5 separate regions of the Homo sapiens genome follow, and all the other regions are linked to region 3. The links are contacts of gene promoters, found by promoter capture Hi-C in blood cells and fetal thymus (Javierre and others, 2016). All regions are on one chromosome and are shown on one strand. The core of a region is centred on a gene start or on the middle of the fragment in contact, and the rest is flanking DNA. Distances in the headings are between cores, read along the strand shown.

Region 1 (2,700 bases), core at 6-2,505, 210 kb after region 3:
AACTGTTTCTGCCCAGGTAGGATTTTGGAAAAAGAATCATCCATAAGAGATAAGCTAAGCCTTAAAGGATAAAAAGTATTGTGTTACTGTTAACCACTGGACAGAGGATGACCAAATGAGTGAGGGTGTGTCGGGCAAGGGAGGAATGGCAAGAAGTCTACTCTGAGCTAGGTAGGAATCTTTCGGGGACGTGTTAAACTGTCTCATTCTCCTTTTATCTTTCTCCACCTTCCCCTTTCTGCTACTCTCTCAACTTCTTAGTTCTTTTTTGTTGTAATGTCATCATTTTTCTCAGGTCTCCTGTATATTTCAGCCAACAGACATATTGTAAGTTCCAGGTTTGTATTGATTTTAGCACATGGGAAACCAGAGTTTATATTAAAGAAGAAATCTGATTGATCCTGATTCTCTCATCTCTGGATTCATTACTCTAGCAAGGGATATGGAGTATTTTCATTAGCTAATTGGTAGACATTTGGGCTTACCTGTACCTCCATTTTGTGGTATACTTATTTTTCTGTATTCTACTTAGTCAATACCCTTTTTATATTTTTATATTTCTTAATAAATGACTTTAAATTCTTTCCAGAATAAAGAACAATAAAGAGAAAGAAAGAAAGAGAGAAAAAGAAAAAGGAAGAAAGAATTTTGGAACTTCACGAATTGTGATCATTACTATTGTATTAGTTAGCAGTTGCCTCATAACAATAACCACCAATACTCAACAGCTTAAAACAATAAACATTTATTATTTCAATGTCCTCATAATTCAGGAATCCAGACATGGCTTAGATGGGTACTTCTGGCTCAGGACCTCTCATGAGGTTGCAGCAAGGTTTTGACCAGGGCTATGGTTTCATCTAAAGTTTCAGCCAAAGCACAAATCATTCCTAGGCCATTCGTGTGGCTGTTGGCAGGATATAGTTCCATACAGGCTGTTGAACTAAGGGCTTCTGTTCTTCACAGGCCAGAGGTCATTCCTAACTCCATACCACGTAGATATCTCCATGGGGCCATTCACAACATGGCAGCTGGCTTCCTTCAGAATGTGTGAGCCAGGGAGCAAGAGAGAGCACCCAAGTTGGAAGCCACAGTCCTTTTGTAACCTAATATTGGAAGTGATATCCCATCACTTTTGTTGTATTCTATAGGAACAAATCATTAAGTTTAGCTCACAACTCAAAGGAAGAGGATTATACAAGATACAAATTCCATGAGGCAATGATCATTAAGGACCTGCAACAACTTTTCAAAAGCTGAGGCAGGAGAATTTCTTGAACTCAGGAGGCGGAGGTTGCAGTAAGCTGAGATTGTGCCACTGCACTCCAGCCTGGGCAACATAGCGAGACTCCATCTCAACAACAAAACAAAAACACAAACAAACAAACAAGCAAAAAAAAATTTTGAAAGACAATATTAGCTCAATTTTACAGGCAAGAAAACAAAAACAATGCCTTGTCTAAAAACCCATTTCCCCACACCCTGCTGCTCCTTTATAAAGATAGCTAACATCTTCCTGTGCATTATTTCCTATGACATCCCTTTATAGTAGCTGATGTGTTTTCCAACCTCTTTCCCCCAAACTACATATTTATCAGGATAATTGTCTACTTTCCACATTATCCCAGGAGACACTTTTATAAGATGCTGTGCCCTTGCATAAGTCCTCATTCTTCTAGCTTCTGATAATCATCCCTTTTGTTATTTTTCTTTATTCTTTGTTCCTGATTCCTCAGCCGATGCCTCATTGTTTTTCTTGATTTGTTCTTGTAACTGCAATATCCTAATTCAAGAGCCAATTATCGTATCAGTCAGGGGAGCCTGTGTTATGCTGCTGTCAAAACAACTCCAAAAGCATTTTCTTTCTCAAGTTATGTGTCCCACAGAGATTGCCCTTTTCATCTTAATCACTTAGGAGCACTGGCTGGTGGACGAGCATCCAGGCTCCCCACAGCAGGGAAAATAGAATGTAATAAACTGAGCACTGGCTTTAAATCTTTGGCTCGGAAGAGACACATGTCACCTTTGCTCACTTTTTTTTTAAACCAAAGAAAATTCCATGGTGGCATATAACACAGAGTAGGCAAAGAAGTGCCATCCTGCTTTATTCCTAGAAACCTGACATACTTGATGAACAGCTCTGACAAATACCACAAATTATAAAGTGATATGTACATCCAAATTATATTTTTTCCAAATGCTTCATTGATCAAATTTGATAAAATCATTTTATATGGTGTATAGCTTCATAATGTAATACTAATTGGTACTTAAAAAAATCTTGATCCAAAATTTAGAAGATCATACCATTTGATAAGCATTTCACTAATGGATTTGCTTCTGTTCATGAATAAAACACCTACCATAAATATAGTATACTTATTTATGTTCTTAAAATACCAGCCATTTCTTTCTGTCTTAAAATGTAACAAACTTGAATTGTTAACTATATTAAAGAAAGTTATTTGGTTTCAAAAACAGAATGTGATTGATTTTTAAAAAAGAACATTTTATCAGGATATAAGAGAATCAAAAGGATCAGAAGTAAAGGCAGAAGATCAAGACTTGGAGGCCAGGAGCTCCAAAAGTTCATGACAGCAAGGGAAATTGCATTTGTTCTCTGTCTGAGTCCATTAGGGCTACTATAACAAAATACCATAAGCTGGGTGGCTTATAAAAGAACAGAAACTTAATTCCCAC
Region 2 (2,700 bases), core at 150-2,649, 140 kb after region 3:
GAAGATGCTATTTTTCTGTATATTATGTTGAAATAATTGGGATGATGAGTTTTCAAAACTCATTGACAGCATCTGAAGTCATAGAGCTCCTGCAAATTTTGTATCTGCAGGTTGGTTGTGCCTTGATAGTTGTGGTAATAAGACTCCTGTGCAGCTAGCTTGTCTGTAGGGAAGTGTTTCCATGATGGATTTCAACTGGGGAAGTTTTCAAAAACCTAGATGTGAATATATTTGAATGTCACTTATACCCTTGGTGTTAGTTGTTGCTAGAAATCTGTCTATGACACTGAATAATAAATGTGAAAGCCTAATGGAGAAGAGTGAAAAGATAGATGCTGTGATATGCTTGCTTTGCTGATGCAAATGGATTAATAGTGGCATTAGATAGAAAGGAAATTGATCTCATCTAGACTTGGTTATAATGGGATTTCCAAACATTCTTTTGTTTTTGTTTTTTTTTTTTTTTTTGAGACGGGGTCTTGCTCTGTCGCCCAGGCTGGAGGGCAGTGGCACAATCTCTGCTCACTGCAAGCTCCGCCTCCCGGGTTCCCGCCATTCTCCTGCCTCAGCCTCCCGAGTAGCTGGGACCACAGGCGCCCGCCACCACGCCCGGCTAATTTTTTTATATATATTTTTTAAATTATACTTTAAGTTCTAGGGTACATGTGCACAATGTGCAGGTTAGTTACATATGTATACGTGTGCCATGCTGGTGTGCTGCACCCATTAACTCATCATTTACATTAGGTATGTCTCCCAATGCTATCCCTCCCCTCTCCCCCCACCCCACAACAGGCCCCGGTGTGTGATGTCCCCCTTCCTATGTCCAAGTGTTCTCATTGTTCAATTCCCACTTATGAGTGAGAACATGCAATGTTTGGTTTTTTGTCCTTGCGATAATTTGCTGATAATGATGGTTTTCAGCTTCAACCATGTCCCTACAAAGGACATGAACTCATCATTTTTATGGCTTCATAGTATTCCATGGTGTATATGTGCCACATTTTCTTAATCCAGTCTATCATTGTTGGTTCCAGGACATTTGGGTTGGTTGCAGGTCTTTACTATTGTGAATAGTGACACAATAAACATATGTGTGCATGTGTCTTCATAGCAGCATGATTTATAATCCTTTGGGTATATACCCAGTAATGGGATGGCTGGGTCAAATGGTATTTCTAGTTCTAGATCCCTGAGGAATAACACTGTCTTCCACAATGGTTGAACCAGTTTACAGTCCCACCAACAGTTTGAAAGTGTTCCTATTTCTCCACATCCTCTCCAGCACCTTTTTTTGGCATTTTTAGTAGAGACGGGGTTTCACCATGTTAGCCAGGATGGTCTCGATCTCCTGACCTTGTGATCCGCCCACCTCGGCCTCCCAAAGTGCAAACATTCTTGAAATTCTGCTTAGCTAGACTGTTATGTGCAAGTTGATTCTGATCCCTTTGCAGAGAGGCCATTCAGGATCAAGTCCAGTCTTGTTGAAACAAAGTTAAGTGATTTTTGGTTTTGGTGTTGATGAAGTACCCATGTGAAATATATTGGCAAGATAAAGGAGTGTAATTACCTCATTTACCGAAAAAAATATTTTTTTAATTTACTTTTAAAAATATTACTGTTGTCCAAACTCAGCAATGCTAATGTTTGTCACCAGATAAACACAGTAAATGCCACTGGTTGGATTTATTTTTAAATGGAGTCATTTCTTTATCTGAATTGAGGTAGACTTCATGTTAGCTGCTGTGTTATAGTAATTAAAGTTCACATTTATCTGTGAGTGTTAAAATTTTCACTTTTTATCGTGCCATCAAACTCACTAAATAGTTTCAGAGTCAAAGGATAAGACATAAAAAATTCCTGAAAAATTAATGCCATTTATATATCTTCTAAAACCTTAAATTTATTGATGTATAAGTATGCGTCCCTGTTTTCCAATATTCATTTTGTATTTAGTTAAAAGCTGTTCTGAAGATTTATGGCACGCGATAGCAGTTTTGGTAGAGTTATAAATTTTCTTTTCTTTTTTATTGTTGGTGCCTTAGAAGCCAGTTGAATTACAAATTTACATTTTCAGAATTAGAATTGTATAATCTAGATTTAATTAATGCAAGGATGATAATGCTTCAGTGGCAGTACTATCTGTTCGAATTGCTAGGTTTTTTTTAACGCTCTCAGGGAGCAGCTCTCCAATTAGGGATTTATACATCTTATTAATTAACTACTTTACAATAGATATTATCCAGTGAACTGTGTATTCATATTAGGGACTGTATAGTTTGCTTGTTATCGAAGTGGATTACATGCCCTTTCCATTTTCTAATCCATATTTTATTTCCTCTGCTGCCTCTTGTATCTGAGTATAGATAGATTCACCAACTACCCAACAGCACCACTGACTTCAATGCCAGTGTTTACTGGGCTTAAGTTACAGCGAATAAAACTAAATAAGTGGTTCAATTTGGAGATTTGGGTACATAAACGTTTTGTATATTACTATGCCTTATGTCTATAAGGTGTACTTTCTGCAAAATGTTTTCCATAGCATTTGATGTCAATCAAAGCCGAGGCTTTACCAAATAGCTGGCATGATGTTTTATCTACAAGCTCTTAATGTAGTGAATATACTAAACATACTTTCCCGACTTTTGAGGGAAATTTCATGCTACCTATAGCAAAAATGTGATTCAAAGATGGTTG
Region 3 (2,716 bases), core at 103-2,602:
ATGTTTGTTCACCCAGAAGATGGTAAACTCCTGAGACCAACTTCGCTTTGTTGTTCTCTTGTGGTTCCTTGACCTTGGAAATGTTTTTCTACAGGCAGAGTATTTCCCCCTGTTGGAATTTTATTTAATATTCTATCTTTGTTTCTACTTTAGAAAACATGCCACGTGAATAATGATGCCTCAGGCAAAAGAAATCACTCCAGCAGTACAATTTAAACTTAGGACAAATCCTGCCCTCACTTGCATTCACAATTTGCCAAGGCAGTTGGTAAGAACTGTGCCCACACACAAATTGACAGAATCGAGGCCCCAAGGTTAGCGATGATTAAAATTTAAAAGTCCATTCATTCATTTTCAAAATATTTTATTCGATTGCTTCTGAGGCAGAATCATGAGTTGCCTTCGCTTTTGCTGCTCCCGGTGGTGGCATCCAACTCTGAGGATAGCTCATCCAACTCTGAGGGTAGCTCTGAGGGGAGCTAAATATCCTCATTGTTCAATGAGCTAGATGAAAACAAAACGAGGCTGTAAGGTCAATCTCACAGCCTTAGTGGAGTAAAAATTAGAAGTCAATAATTCTCTTACCAACAAAGAGGACTTGCATTCAACAGGATTTTCAAAAGTGGTATCCTGTAAAAATTTTGGAAAATACCACCATAATGGAAAAAAAATAAAGTGGCATATAAATCAAATGTAGTGCTAAAAATTATAATTTTTCCATATGAATTTTGGAATCCTAAAATATTTTTATGTGTTTGTGGATTCATAAGGCATCAGAACTGGCTTTTTGCACTGAATATGAGTACAGAAGGCTTTCCTCTCCAATAGTGAATTAATAAAGGATAAGTAGGAAAAACGTTACGAAACGATGTGGTAACATTATAGACTCTGTATTAGGGCAAAAATTGTGAGATAGTAGAAGATCTGTAAATTTAAGCATGCACAATTTGACAGCGGATGGTCGTAGCATATTTTGTAAATTCAATAGCAAGCCCCACCACGCCCTTAAATGAAGGAAAGCAAGAAGACAATTTTTAATACGTACATGGCACCACACCCCTCTAAGACGCAGCAATGGGAGAAAAGCAGATTGGCGACCTGTGTGTGCAACATGAACCGAGTGAAACCATCGGGGAGGGGGTGGGGGGCGTTTCTTTTAAATGTCGCTTTTGCAGATAAACGAGCAGGGATCCTACCTCTTTTGACCGGAGATGTTGAAAAGCACGACCAAAGTTTTTGGCTTGGTCTCTTGCTTTCCACAACGAGATAAAGTCTGAAGCCTGTAACTCTCCCTGTCCCGCGGGAGCGTGCAAAGGGAGGGAAGATAAGCGGCGTGGGTGAGGGGTGGCGGCGCAGAACCCAGGAAGGGAGCAGAGGCGAGAGCCAGCCTCCGGCAGGAGGGCGTAGACCCCGGTGCCAGCCAGAACGGCTCCAGCCTTCCCGCGGCCAGAGAGCCAGCGGCGGGAGGGGACGGGCGGGACCTCCGCGGACAGCCCCGGGTGCGGACCAGCGGGCAGCGGCCGGCGAGACCCTCCCTGGATCCGCCCAGAGCTTACCGGACCCTGCGCGCCCCCGTCCCGGCTCCCGGCCGGCTCGGGGGAGAAGGCGCCCGAGGGGAGGCGCCGGACAGATCGCGTTTCGGAGGCGGCGCAGGTGTGTCAGGGGTGGGGGTCCGCTGGCATCTCTCGTGCCGGCGCTGGGGGGGTCTCCCGTGGAGGAAGGGCTGAAGGTGCTCCGGGAGGGGTCCACTCGTTATGGAAAGGAAGCGGGGCGCGGTCAGGGTCCCTCGTCCGCAGTGGGGGTGGTCCGGGCCCCTCAGCCTGCACCCGGGAGGAGACGCCCCCTTTTCACGCCCCGCCCCCGGTGGCCGAGGCCGGATTCGGACAGCTCGGGGTCAGTCGACGGAGCACACCGGGCGCCCGAATCCGCCGGGTCCCACTCACGCCCGCCGGCCGCCGGTAGGTTGGCCCTCCCGCTTCCAGCCTCCGCCACCCCATCCCTCGCTGCTCTCTGAGGAGGATTCCAGACCCCCCCGTAGATCTCCGCCCTCTCTCGGGTGGGGCTCCGAGGTCTAGCTGGTCTGGGGGTCAGTCCCGGCCTCTGTCTCCCACCGCGCCCCTCGCTCCCCTGGACACCGCCTGGTGTGTGGGGCTCAGACCCCCCCAGTCCACTGCCCCTGTGTGGCTCCTCCTCTCAGGAGAGGATTCTAGATCCCAGCCCGGGGGGGGTTCCGAAAATGCCGCCAGCCTGGAGCGGGGAATCCATGGACCGTGGGGTTGTGGGGTTGGGGAGCACGAAAACCCAGAGAGGGGCTAGAGCTCCACCTCCCCAGACCGCCGAGGGGCGAGAGGGCGCGCCGGGGGCCGTGGTTGCCATGGCTCCTGGTAGCGGAGCCCGGGGGGCTGGAGATGCCGGTCGCGGATGGTCCCTTCTTCCTCTTTGTGCCTCTCTCTTTCTCTCGCTTTTTTTTTTTTTTTGGAGTGTGAGTGTGCGTGGGGAGGCAGCACGGAGAAAGTGATTAATTTGGGGAGCAGGGATTGGAGCCGGGAGGCTGGGGAAAGCCAGCCCCTCCGTTCCCACTCTCCGGGCTCGCTGCGAGCCACAGTGTCTCAGCCAGGGGCAGGGCCGGGGAACTCCTGCGAAAAACCACGGGCCGGAGGAGCAGCAGCCGCGCGGGCCCAGGTACCCCCGCCCCAGACGGCCAGCAGGGTGGAGC
Region 4 (2,700 bases), core at 17-2,516, 180 kb after region 3:
TGCAGCACACCATAGTGTGACCCCGTGTGTGATTTTCTGTGTGACCCTATGTGTGACAACTATTTGTGATTTTGACATGTGACAGAATTATCCAGGCTTCATGTTCAAATGCAATGGCCCTTGCCCCATCTCCAAATGTACTGATTTGGAACCTGGACTGAGGCTGGAACACGACATTTTTAATAAGTTCTTTAGGTATACCATACCTACCACATTTCGAGGACTAGTGAGGCACCCAACGTTGATTAATTGGAGGCACCTAAGATACATTTGTGAGACTGGAAACAAGGCATAGTGCAACCATGACTTGCCAAAAAAATTGGTAGCTTTCTTCTCTGGCCTGAAACACCCCGTGCCAGGGTATAAATCTTGGCAAGATTTCAGCTACTATGGGCCCTCGTGCAGGGCACAGAAGTCCTATTTCAAGAGGTTATTAAAGTATATTCTTTCATCTAAGAAGGTACATTTTTCAAAAATTGTCAGGATATGCAGTATTCTAATATTGTATCAAATGGACACCTGAGTAACATGACCTGACATGTTAATTCATGTCAAAGTTTTATTATGTCTAGAATTATGGTGAGATTCTTGATTAACAATTCAAGGTAATATTGGTTGGCAAATCTTTCTATTATTGGTGTAGGAATAAGGGCTGATTCTGTCTATAATCAAAATAACTATGTTTCATTACACTGCAATTTAAAGTAGGTTTATATAATTCAAAATTCTCAGCATTTTATATGAAATGTACATAAAAATATTAATTATGTGAGCCTCCTTTCCTCCTCACAAGGATGACACTATTTAAGTTATTTCAACAAAATGCTAATTATTATGAATACATTTTAAATTTTACGGAACTTGAAAAATACTTTAATAGTTATCTCAACAATGGTACGGGGTAAAAGGTGAAGTTTATAAAGAAGCAGTTTTCTCATAGTAAACCTGATCACAAATTGGTAAAAACAAATGATAAAAAGTGAGGTGAAATGATTTGCAAAAAGAAGTACTACACTGCCATCTTCTGTTCAAATAAGTCATATGCTTCAATTGCTATCTGATCTTAATGTGCATTGTACTTGGGAGTGGAGGGGCGGAGAAAAGAGAAACTTGTGAAAAACTGAGATTATCCGACTCCTTCTCAGGTATTCTGGTTCTGTGGAATGGAGATGGAATTCAGGAATCTGCCTTTGTAGGAAGCACTCCAATCGAGCCTATATAGGTGATTCCCTAAACATACCTTAAGAATTACTCAAATATATCTTGGCCATTGTGAGGTATGATGCACTCTTTAAACATGCCAGGCAACATACAGTTCCATCACTGACCCATGCAAACAGATGGTTAGATTTCATAATTTTTAATGTGATTTTGTTTATGGCTATGTAGACAGTTGTGTATGCTAGAATAATTCTTTATCTCCAGGTTTCAACTGTGGCATTCTCTAATCAAATTTGCATTGCATAAAGTCATCTTTCACTCTTAGATTGTTTTCGATAAGGAATATGCATTTTTAAAAGAATTGGGTTTCTATCATTTCTATTGTTTTCCTTCTCATCATGTACTCACTTTTTTTCTGATAGGATAATTATTGATGGAGCTAATTTGACCATATCTAATGTAACTTTAGAGGACCAAGGTATTTACTGCTGTTCAGCTCATACTGCTCTAGACAGTGCTGCCGATATAACTCAAGTAACTGTTCTTGGTAAGTGCACTAACTAATGAGAAATCTGTTCATTTCTTCATTTCTGATTAAATCCCATCGTTCCTGGCCAATAAAGCTAATGATTCTTTGAGCCCCTGCACATATATTGTTAGTTTCAAATTTTTGTTTAAAAAGCAACACAACTTCAAATCCTTTCTCCTTTTTTCATATAAAAGAAATTAATTAATGCTTAATTTTTTTTCCCTACATGTGTTAATTTGCCAATAGCAGTGGGAGGTAAGTGATGCTATCCGCAGAAAGAAAAATAAAGCACGCTTGAGTTCCTAGCACTCTTGAGCTACTCTTTCCTGGTGTACAAAGAAATGGGGCTGAGGAATGGAGGTGGGCTAGACTGGAGGATCTCGATAGGGGTCAAGAGGTGGATGCACGGTGGTCATCTCTAAACCAAAGGCACAGACTGAGTTCCCAGGGTTCCAGGAAGGATGGAGAGGAACTTCCAGCATTCTACAAAGGAATGTCTTTGATTTTTGTCGTTGTTGTTGTTGATGAAAGTACTAATCAGGAAACAGTGTGCACACTTCACTAGTATAATCAATGCAATTACTCCTGAAATCACCAATGTTTAAAGCTCTTAGACCATCTGCTGGATGTTTTCCAAAATTTCCCTTCCAGATTCACTCTCTACCAGCTCTTTGACCTAGAAAGGTTGCTTTTAAGGACAACATCAGCAAACCACTTTCCTTCCAGCTATTATTTGGTTCAGCAAGTGGAGGGCCGTTTGGAGTGTTGTACTGATTCTCCCTACTCCATCCCTGTGGACTGGCTGTGTCCCACTGCCAAAGTCATGGCTTCTGCAGACAGGGTCTCCTCACACCATTCCTTCTGATGAGGCTCTAGCAGCTGCATCCCACCACCAATATTTCAAGTCTCTCTCACACCCAACCTACTGAACATCCTGCCCACATCTTTTTAAAGACGTTTTATTAAAACATTTTGGAACTATCGTAAATTTGTGTGAGTTATTCATTGAT
Region 5 (2,700 bases), core at 33-2,532, 160 kb before region 3:
TTCAGGCTGAATAAAATTAATTCAAGTTGTTGCTAATAAATGTTGTATGAAATCCTCAAACAATGGAGATATCTGCTTTTATATCTATTCATCCGTCCATCTATCCACTCATCCATTCATCATTAATGGAGCATATATTTATTGAGTCTTCATTATGGTGCTTACTGTAATAACAATTAGGCACTGTTCTAAGTATTAAGAATATAACAGGACATAAGCATAGTGCTCTTGACTTCCTGAAGTTTAAAGATTGGGGGGATGGGAGGTGACAGGGACCAATTAGTAAATAAGGAGCTATGATACATTTTGAAATGCAGCGAGATAAGAGTACAGAAAGGTCCTATGAGAGCCCCTGAAGGGGCAGGAAACTCAGATCTAAGAGGGTGATCAGGCAACTTCCTGAAGGAAGTGGCATCTAAGCTGAGATCTGAAGCAGAGGGAAGGATAAAGAATATCAGACAAAATAGCAAAAACAAAGGCCAGGACACTCGCATATATAATACTTTTGAAAGACCTGAAAGAAGTTAGGAAAAACTGGATTATGGTGTGCAAGTTCGGGGTCATGGAAAAGTAGGCATGATAAGGTGCACCAGGGTGCAGTATGTGGAAGTGTCTTACTGATTAGGGAGTGGTGGTGATTACAATGGGTACTCTGATTTAGTTTTTTGGAATCACATTATTTTAAATTCATTTTTAAAAGTACATTCTCATTGTCTATTTATCAATGTATTTAATTTATATAATCTTCTTTTATGAAAAAGGATTTCAGGTGGTTTCTAAAATACATAAAGTATGATGCAACTGCATGAATTCAAGGGGGTGCAAGGATATGCACAAAGGAATACCACAATCATATTACAATGAATCCTCCTACAAGGCAGATTATACTGACCTACAAGCTTCATCTGAATAACACTAACCCTTGGAGGAAAGGTATGTTGGATTCTTATAATGTGAGAAGCAGGGTTCTAGCTGCTTTCCACCTGTATCTCATTTAATCCTCAAAGACCCTGCCACTCAAAGTGCAGTCCACAGAACAACAGCATCAGCGTCACCTGGGATTTGTGAGAAATGCAGAAACTCTGGCCTCATCCCAAATCTGTTGATTCATCTACATTTTAACAAGGCCCCGGGTGATTCCTGAACACATAAAACTTTGCCAAGAACTGGACAAAGAACATTTACCTTTAATGTGTTTTTCAATTTACAGGTGAGGACACCAGGCTTCTAAGAGAATAAGTAACTTGCCCAAAACTAAACACTTAGTGAGTGCAGGGGAAGATTTTGAGTTTACACTTTCTGACTCCAGGCACTTTTTTTCAGGAGTGGGGACGGTGGGGCAGAGTCTCATCCTGTTGTCGATGCTAGAGTGCCGTGGCATGATCCCGGCTAACTGCAGCCTCAACCTCTTGGACTTACGTGATCCTCCCACCTCAGCATCCGAAGTAGCTGGAACCACAGGCACGTGCCACCACACGCTGCTAATCTTGTTTATTTTTTGTAAAGAGGAGATTTCACCATATTGCCCAGGCTAGTCTCAAACTGCTGGGCTGCAGCGATCCTTCCACCTCAGCCTCCCAAAGTGCTGGGATTACAATTGTGAGGCATTATGCCAGCCTGCAGGCCCTTCTTGGTTTCTAAGTGGCATAGCCTCCCCCTGTGTTTGTAAGCTTTACGGCAAGCTTGGCCAACCTGTGGCCCACGACTTTGAATGTGGCCCAACATAAGTTTGTAAACATTCCTAAAACATTATGAGATTTTTAGGTGATTTTTTTAAAGCTCATCAGCTATCACTAGTGTTAGTGTATTTTATGTGTGGCCCAAGACAATTCTTTATCCAGTGTGGCCCAGGGAAGCCAAAAGAGTAGACATCTCTGCTTTACGGTGACCAGCCAAATAGGAAATATGGGCTTTTATGCAAAACACATTGTCCCAATGATTTTTTTTTTTAAGAGACCAGTTGCTCAAAAGAACAGCAGGGCAACTACCATCAACATTATCAGGAAGGAACTCTTCCCAGGGATTTATATAAGCAAGACTTTACATGATGCAATGAATGACAAGACAGGCAAAATCTTTCCACAAATGCTAGCTGATCAATCAAAACAATGTGATTTGATGGAAAACGACTTGGTTGGCAGTGATTAGCCAGACCATTTAGCTATCTCGGAAAGGCTGAAGCAAAAGTTGATTGGACAGCAGCAATGATGTAGGAGCTATTTCAGTTAGGAAGACAAGCTAATGACATCCAAGTCCCCTTCTGCCTCTCCTATGTTGAGTCCTGCTCAATGGCTCCTCCCAACATAAAAAATTACAAATTGATGTAAGCATTCATAAACCTAAATGTTTACAGGGATGGAATGGACTGAATTGTGACCCACGAATGTTTATTATGTTGAAAGTTTAACCCCAATATGACTGTATTTGGAGATAGGACCATTAAAGAGGTAATTAAGATTAAACGAGGTCTTAAGAGTGGGACCCTAATCCAATAGGACTGGTGTCCTTATAAGAAGAAGAGACACCAGGAAGGCACATGCACAGAGAAAAGACCATACAAGGGCACAGCTTGAAGGCAGCAAACCAAGGAGAGGCCTCAGGAGAAACCAGCCTGCTGACACCTAGATCTTGGACTTCCAGCCTCCAGGACTATGAGAGAATACCAGTCTGTGGCATTTTGTTATGGCAGCCTTGGTTAAC

The links. The method cuts DNA at HindIII sites, captures the fragments that hold promoters and counts their contacts. A CHiCAGO score of 5 or more calls a contact.
Region 1: a contact is called between a fragment that was not itself captured here and the fragment with the promoter of CHL1 in region 3, in 1 of 17 cell types (naive B cells). The highest score is 5.0, in naive B cells.
Region 2: a contact is called between a fragment that was not itself captured here and the fragment with the promoter of CHL1 in region 3, in 2 of 17 cell types (naive B cells and total B cells). The highest score is 21.2, in naive B cells.
Region 4: a fragment that was not itself captured here is called in contact with the fragment with the promoter of CHL1 in region 3 in 2 of 17 cell types (naive B cells and total B cells); the score reaches 7.6 in naive B cells.
Region 5: a contact is called between a fragment that was not itself captured here and the fragment with the promoter of CHL1 in region 3, in 2 of 17 cell types (naive B cells and total B cells). The highest score is 6.9, in naive B cells.

What each region holds. Positions count from the first base shown.
Region 1 is chr3:402,190-404,889 of GRCh38, forward strand. All of the region lies in intron 27 of CHL1 (cell adhesion molecule L1 like), which reads left to right. Among named protein-coding and RNA genes, the nearest start is that of CHL1-AS1, 18 kb to the left of the region's middle. The HindIII fragment of the contact is 3,393 bases long and covers 1-2,700 here.
Region 2 is chr3:336,741-339,440 of GRCh38, forward strand. All of the region lies in intron 5 of CHL1 (cell adhesion molecule L1 like), which reads left to right. Among named protein-coding and RNA genes, the nearest start is that of CHL1-AS1, 48 kb to the right of the region's middle. The HindIII fragment of the contact is 3,244 bases long and covers 1-2,700 here.
Region 3 is chr3:195,411-198,126 of GRCh38, forward strand. CHL1 (cell adhesion molecule L1 like) reads left to right here and starts at 1,353. Exons shown (of 28, transcript NM_006614.4): 1 at 1,353-1,653. CHL1-AS2 (CHL1 antisense RNA 2) reads right to left here and starts at 1,931. Exons shown (of 4, transcript NR_144487.1): 1 at 1,557-1,931; 2 at 1,046-1,098; 3 at 586-630; 4 at 348-504. The HindIII fragment of the contact is 3,854 bases long and covers 1-2,716 here.
Region 4 is chr3:376,235-378,934 of GRCh38, forward strand. It overlaps CHL1 (cell adhesion molecule L1 like), which reads left to right. Exons shown (of 28, transcript NM_006614.4): 16 at 1,584-1,708. The region is part of intron 2 of CHL1-AS1 (CHL1 antisense RNA 1); the gene reads right to left. Among named protein-coding and RNA genes, the nearest start is that of CHL1-AS1, 8.2 kb to the right of the region's middle. The HindIII fragment of the contact is 5,236 bases long and covers 1-2,700 here.
Region 5 is chr3:32,583-35,282 of GRCh38, forward strand. No RefSeq gene overlaps it. Among named protein-coding and RNA genes, the nearest start is that of LINC01986, 22 kb to the left of the region's middle. The HindIII fragment of the contact is 771 bases long and covers 898-1,668 here.